Regions from separate parts of the Homo sapiens genome. Here region 1 is linked to region 2. The links are contacts of gene promoters, found by promoter capture Hi-C in human tissues and cell types (Jung and others, 2019). All regions are on one chromosome and are shown on one strand. The core of a region is centred on a gene start or on the middle of the fragment in contact, and the rest is flanking DNA. Distances in the headings are between cores, read along the strand shown.

What was found. The method cuts DNA at HindIII sites, captures the fragments that hold promoters and counts their contacts. A contact is called where the count stands out against the background at its distance.
Region 1: a contact is called between a fragment that was not itself captured here and the fragment with the promoter of NELFCD in region 2, in 1 of the 25 tissues and cell types used here (spleen).

The regions. Positions count from the first base shown.
Region 1 is chr20:58,704,039-58,707,411 of GRCh38, reverse strand. It overlaps NPEPL1 (aminopeptidase like 1), which reads right to left. Exons shown (of 12, transcript NM_024663.4): 7 at 212-289. It overlaps STX16-NPEPL1 (STX16-NPEPL1 readthrough (NMD candidate)), which reads right to left. Exons shown (of 23, transcript NR_037945.1): 17 at 1,843-1,914; 18 at 212-289. Among named protein-coding and RNA genes, the nearest start is that of NPEPL1, 13 kb to the right of the region's middle. The HindIII fragment of the contact is 8,020 bases long and covers 1-3,373 here.
Region 2 is chr20:58,979,368-58,982,517 of GRCh38, reverse strand. It overlaps NELFCD (negative elongation factor complex member C/D), which reads right to left and starts at 1,262. Exons shown (of 15, transcript NM_198976.4): 1 at 1,149-1,262. The coding sequence starts at 1,208. RefSeq lists an enhancer at 504-1,004 and a silencer at 927-1,406. The HindIII fragment of the contact is 13,643 bases long and covers 1-3,150 here.

The sequences.
Region 1 (3,373 bases), core at 330-2,829, 280 kb after region 2:
CTTGCCCTCGGGGCCTCCCAGAGCAGCTCTGATGAAGGCGGGAAGCTCTGGGGGCCCCAGAAGAGCCTGGGGGCAGAGGGGGGACAAGCATCCGCTGGGGAGACTCGGGTAGGACCCTGGTGGGGCCTGTGGCGGGACGGACAGGGGAGAGGGGAGCACCCACGAGGCACACCCAGGATGCCCCTGCAGAGGGCGGGCAGGGCCCACTCACCTGCTTGATTGCGGCTCTGAAGGCCCCCAGGACGGCCGCAGCACCCCCGCAGTCTCGCTTCATCCCCGGCATGGTAGTCTGCGGGTGGTACAAAGGGACCAGGACAAAGGTGAGCTGTGAGGTCCAGGCCTGGCAGCGGAAGCCCCCCACCCCCACCCGGCCCCACGCTAGCCCCACCTTCCCCAGCTCTCAGGCCTGGGCAGCCCCCACACCAGGCCTCCTGGGCACCCACAGAACTCATGAACCTCATATTGGCCAAGTGGGGTGTTCTCCAGAAGCAACAGGGAGTCATGGCCATAGATGGTGAGGCTCCCTTTTGTTTTGACAGAACTTTGGGGTTATCAAACAGTAACTGCACGGAGGGGGAACCCGAGGAGATGCCCGGAGCTGCAGAATTCGCTGTGGCCGGGCTCTGACATTGAAACAGGGACCCCGTGCTTTGACGCCGGGCACCCTGACCTCAGTCCCGGGCTGCCACGCCGCCTGGGGGTCTGTCTGCAGGGCCACTCTCTCCACTCCTCCGCACAGCGTGAGAAGGAAGCTGAGGTCCAGGGAGCCTCTGGGGCTTGCTGGAGGTCCCTGGCCAGCACCTCAGGGACCTGGGTGGGCTTGCGTGCTTCCTGCACCCATTGCAGATTCCTAGTGTGCTTATGGCAGGGAGGAAGCCTGAGGGGCTGCTGCCGCAATGCAAACCTGCCCTGGCCACCTGTCGCCCCCCAGAACAGGGCCTAGCTTCCTCTCCCTGGCACTTAGAGGGCTTTACCACCTAACGAGACTTAGGCTCAGCATTCTCTGCCCCTCATCACAACCTTGAATGATGGTGAGGGTTGATGTGAACTCTTCGCCAAAATCAGTCACATCCACCCCCACTGACACCACCAGCAGTGAGGACACCTGTCGCTCCTTCATGTCACTGCCAGGTCTATCGCCAGAAGAAGGGGCCACCTCTGCCCTCCTGCTAGTTCACACCTCCTGGTTAATAGTTCACACCTCCTGGTTAACCTGGGTCTAAAGAGGGGCCACCCTTCTCCTGCAGTGTCCACACTGTTTCCTATACGCTGGTTGACAGTGTTACACATTTTTACATTTTACAGGTTCCCAAATCAAATTCACAAGTTCATATTTTAAATTAACAGCAGGTCCTCAGAGGTAAAGGTTTGGGTATGAAATTTACTGAATCATTTTTGAACCCTTATCTTATTACACAAGCTTTGAATTTTAGTGCAAAGTATTTTTAGATGTAAATTGAGCTGCTTTTATAATTGAGTGAAAATGACCCATCTTGTACTACTGAAAATAAGCCATCTCTTCTGAGCTAATCTGTTTGAGAAAGCACAGGATTGTTTAAATGGAAAAACAGGGCCTCCGATCTGGAATCAAACCATGTGCAAAATGGGTCACACAGCAATGCCTGGAAACGGCTGCTCACTGTACACCATGTCTCCCCCGTCACAGCTGCCAGCTCCTTCCCAATTGCAGGTGGAGCCAGGACTGGGCTTGCAAATACAGCTCAACTGATTGATTGTGCAAAGTTTCACCAGCCCCCATATGTTGTTTCTGTTTTTATAGAAGAAACCATTTTCGCAGTGATTTAAGACGGTCTCTGCCTTTTTCACGGGGCTGACACTTACACCCCCTGTGCTGGAGTATCAGGCCACAGTCCCAAAGAGGTCCGGGAGCCACTGTATTCGTTTCCGTGCCCTCTGGGAAAATGAACCAATGCCAATTTCACGTTAGAATTTCCTTGCTGAAGCAGTAAAATTAATTTTTAAAACTCTCAACCCTTGGGTACAATACATTTTCCATATTCCGTGTGACTCATAATGTACTCCTGCTGTTGCTGACGGGCAGTGGTCGGTCAGAGCAGAAGCTCAGCTGTGATTGCTGGGGGAGTTCTGAGCTCCATGAGCCACTCTGGCCACGACACCATCTTTACTTGAAAGAAAAACTGACAGACAAATGGCATTTAATTGGATTTAGGTATCTGGCAGATATTTCCCAGAAAAGGAACAAACTGAGCCTCTTACTTCCAGAAACAGCTGACATTATTTATTGCCAATGGTATACATTTGAGCTTTTAAGCAAAAATCAGAATTTTGAAAAACTTTCTCCTATCACCATGACAACTTCCTCATAATGAGTTTTCTGATGAGATGGATGGTGATATTAAGTGATTTTTTGATACTATATAATGTAATGTGTCAAAAATTTGAATTTCTGCAGAACTCTGTGAACCAACATTTTTCAAGTGAACATTCATTTTTCCATGAAAAACCACATGTTCAAAGTGAGAGAGAACAGCGGATTTAACTGCCACAGAGCCCAAAAGTCTATTCATGAGGCTTCAGATTCCATGTTATAACCAGCCTTTAAGAAGCTACCACTTGTTGAGTTTTGGTGTAGTAGCAAAGAATGTTCATAGTTAGTTAGCTGAAAAAGGTACTAAAATCCTTTTCCCTGTTTCAACTATAAAATGCGTGAGGCCAGATTTTCTTGATACAGTTCAACTGAAACAACACATTTCCATAGACTACATCGGAAGCAGACGCAAGGTCCCTAGCTGTCTTCTATTAAGCCAGACACTGACAGGATTTGTGAAAATGTACAACAATGCTACTCTCTCAGTAAATTATTTTTTCATTTTGGAAGATGCTTATCTTCATAAAATTATTTATGATAACATGCAATGGATTTATATGTTATTTTTAATGAATTATACATGTTATAAATTTCTCACTTTTAATTTCCAGTAGAGTAAATATCAATAGACATTGTTATACAAAAAGCCTCTTTGGGGTCGGTACTTGTTAAGAGCGTAAAGGGGTCTCCAGTAATGCATTTGAGGCCTGCTAGTCCAGGCTGGTCTTGAGCTGCCCTTGAAATCTTTGAAAATGGAGCTGTGATTTTTTTTTTCTTGCAAAACTGGGAGCTGGGCTGGCTCCAGCCGGCTTGCTTTTTGAGGAGTGACCATTTCTGCACCATTTGCTCTACAGGCAGCCACTGGGGAGAATGCCTGCTGCGTTGCGTCTGCGTTTCACACCAGGCCGTTGGGGAGAGATTGTGAGCGCCTTCAGGTCAGGATTGGGGTCTTTGCATCAATGGCTGGAGCCTCAGCGCCCACTCCACACAGTAACAGCTCAGGAAAGGCCTGCTGGTTGATCC
Region 2 (3,150 bases), core at 13-2,512:
CCACTTCAAAATGCACCAGACATCCCCAATCTTGATTGTTGTTAAAAATGCAAGTTCCTGGGCCACGAGCAGTGGCTCACGCCTGTAATCCCAGTACTTTGGGAGGCAGAGGTGGGTGGATCACCTGAGGTCAAGAGTTTGAGACCAGCCTGGCCAACAAGGTGAAACCCCCTCTCTACTCAAAATTTTAAAAATTAGCTGGGCATGGTGGTGGGTGCCTGTAATCCCAGCTATTCGGGAGGCTGAGGCAGGAGAATCGCTTGAATCCGAGAGGCAGACGTTGCAGTGAGCCGCGATGGCGCCATTACACTCCAGCCTGGGCAACAAGAGCGAAACTCCACCACAAAAAAAAAAAAAAAAAAAAAAAAAAAAAAAAATGCAAGTTCCCAGGCTCCCGTCCAGACCAACTGTTGGGCCGTCTCCAGGGGAGGGACGTGAGAAGCTACATTTCAATCATGCGCCTCAGTTGGGTCTTTAGAGTAAGGTGGGGACACACTGTCCAGACTAGAGCTACCTGCCCTGGCTCTGCAGTCCCTGTCCTCAGGGTGGAACAGTGATCCCTCCTGGGCTTCCACCCCAAACCCTGGAAGGTCAAGGCCCGAAAATCCTTTCCATCAGTTTGCCCAAAAACAGATGAAATCAGCCCAAGGTGCTGAAGAGTACAGTTTATAAAACAGTAAAGCACATGTAGGAATGCCCTAAGTTCTACTTTTTCCTCATGATGCTGCTGTGAAGTTTTTCCACTTTATTTTTGTTTAAAAGTCTGTGAGCTCCGGACCCAACCCTCCACCTTAGCGTTGGTGTCCCGCCCGCCGCGGGGGTCGCAGGGCCGGCGCCGGGCCTGGCCGGAGCGAGGGGGTACTGGGGGCCTCGGGCCGCCCCGCGCCAGAGCCTCCGGCGCCTCACCCCCACCCCAAGGTCCTGCAGGCGAGGAGGCGGGGACCCCGGCGGCCGCGCCGCGGGACCCCGGGCGGGCGGGGGCGGGGCGGGCTGTGCTTGAACCACACGGTGACCGCGCGGGCCGTGCGCGCGCACACCCCCCGCACGCCCGCAGCCTCGCGCCGCGCGGCCTCTCCGGGAGTGGGGCCGGCCCGCCGGCGGCGGAGACGAACGATTCTCTCTAGGGTGCGCCCAGTGCCCCGCCTCACCTGGCCGCCGTCAGCCTCGTCGCCCCACTCGGCCGCGCTCCCGTAGTAGTCCTCGTCCATGATGGCGCCCGGCACGGCCCCCGCCATGCCCTCCCGCGAGCGAGCGCGGCGCATGCGCGAGGCGGGGACGGGCGGGCGGGCGCACGCGCGGCCGCGCGCCTCGGCCCGGGCGGGAGGCGGGGCCTGGAAGAAGGGGCGGGGCCTGGAGGAAGGGCAGGGCCGCGGGCTCGGCACTGGGAACAAAGGGGACCGGCGGAAGGAACGCCCCCAGTCGATCCCGGAGCGATGCCCGGGTGGACCAGGGGCTTAGCTCCGGAGAGAGGTTTCCCACTGGATTCGTGCACAGCCCCTCCCCTGCGGCGCCGGCTCTGCGAGCCCCAGTTTCCTCATCTGGCAGCTGGAAACAAATCCTTCCGGAAGTGTCCAGGACCCACGAAAGTGTTTTAATTTCTTTTAGTTTTGGTAAAAAGTACTAAACGCGACCGGGCGTGGGGGCTCACGCCTGTAATCCCAGCACTTTGGGAGACCGAGGCTGACGGATCACTTGAGGTCAGGAGTTCGAGGCCAGTCTGGCCAACATGGTGAAACCCCGTCTCTGCTCAAAATACAAAAATTAGCCGGGCGTGGTGGCATGCGCCTGTAATCCCAGGTACTCGGGTGACTGAGGCAGGAGAATCGCTTGAACCCGGGAGGCGGAGGTTGCAGTGAGCCAAGATCGCACCATTGCACTCCAGCCTGAGCGACAGAGCGAGACCCTATCTCAAATAAATAAATACATACATAAAAAGGGCAGGGCACGGTGGCTCACGCCTGTAATCCCAACACTTTGGGAGGCCGAGGCGGGCGGATCACCTGAGGTCAGGAGTTCGAGACCAGCCTGGTCAACATGGTAAAACCCCTTCTCTACTAATAACACAAAAATTAGCTGGGCATGGTGGCGGGCGCCTGTAGTCTCAGCTACTCAAGAGGCTGAGTCACGAGAACCGCTTGAACCCAGGAGGTGGAGGTTGCAGTGAGCCAAGATCACACCACCGCACTCCAGCCTAGGCAACAGAGTGAAACTGTGTCAAAAAAAAAAAAAAAAAGAAAAAGAAAAAGAAAGAAAGAAGAAAGAAAGAAAAGAAAAGAAAAAAGAAAAGAGAAGAAAAAGTACTGAATGCAGTGGAAAGTAGCATTTTTAATTTTTTATAAAGTGGAAGATAGGCCCACAAAGCAAAAGTGCCCAGAGCTGACAAAAATCTCTGGAGAAAGGACCTCTCTGGTCGTTGCCAAAGGGAGCAGCTGACGCTGTTGTAAAGCCCGCAGCTCGATTCCCAGCGTGAAGTAGGGGGTGAGAATATGACAGCCTCCTGATGATCACGGAAAGGTTTTTGTTTGGTTGTTGTGTTTTTGTTTTGTTTTAATTTTAGATTCGGTGCGTGTGCAGGTTTGTTACATTGGTATATTGCGTGATGCTTCTAATCCTTTCGGCAACTTTTTCAGCCTTTACCCCCCTCCACACCTTCTGCCTTTTGGAATACCCCATGTCTGTTGTTCCCATCTTTGTGTCCAAATCACAGAAAATTTTAAACAGGGAGATTAACGCCATAAAATCTGGATGCTTTGAAAGGTAACGCCCGTGGCTGAGCGCCGCGGCTCACACCTGTAATCCCAGCACTTTGGGAGGCCAAGGTGGGAGGATTGCTTGAGGCAAGAGTTTGAGACCAACCTGGGCAACATAGCGAGACACCGCCCCCCCCCTTCCCCCGCCCCCAGCCAGGTATGGTGATGCACGCCTGTAGTCCTAGCTGCTCGGGAGGCTGAGGCAGGAGGATTGCTTCAGCCCAGGAGTTTGAGGTTACAGTTTGCTATGGTCGTGCCATTGCATTTCAGCCTGTGTGACAAAGTGAGACCCTGTCTATAAAGAAAAAAAAGAAAGGTAATGCCCATGTCAGTAAGGAAAGAGTATTAGAGAAAAGAGCTCCAGAAGATTGATAATAGTGACTACTTTTGGAGAACTTAT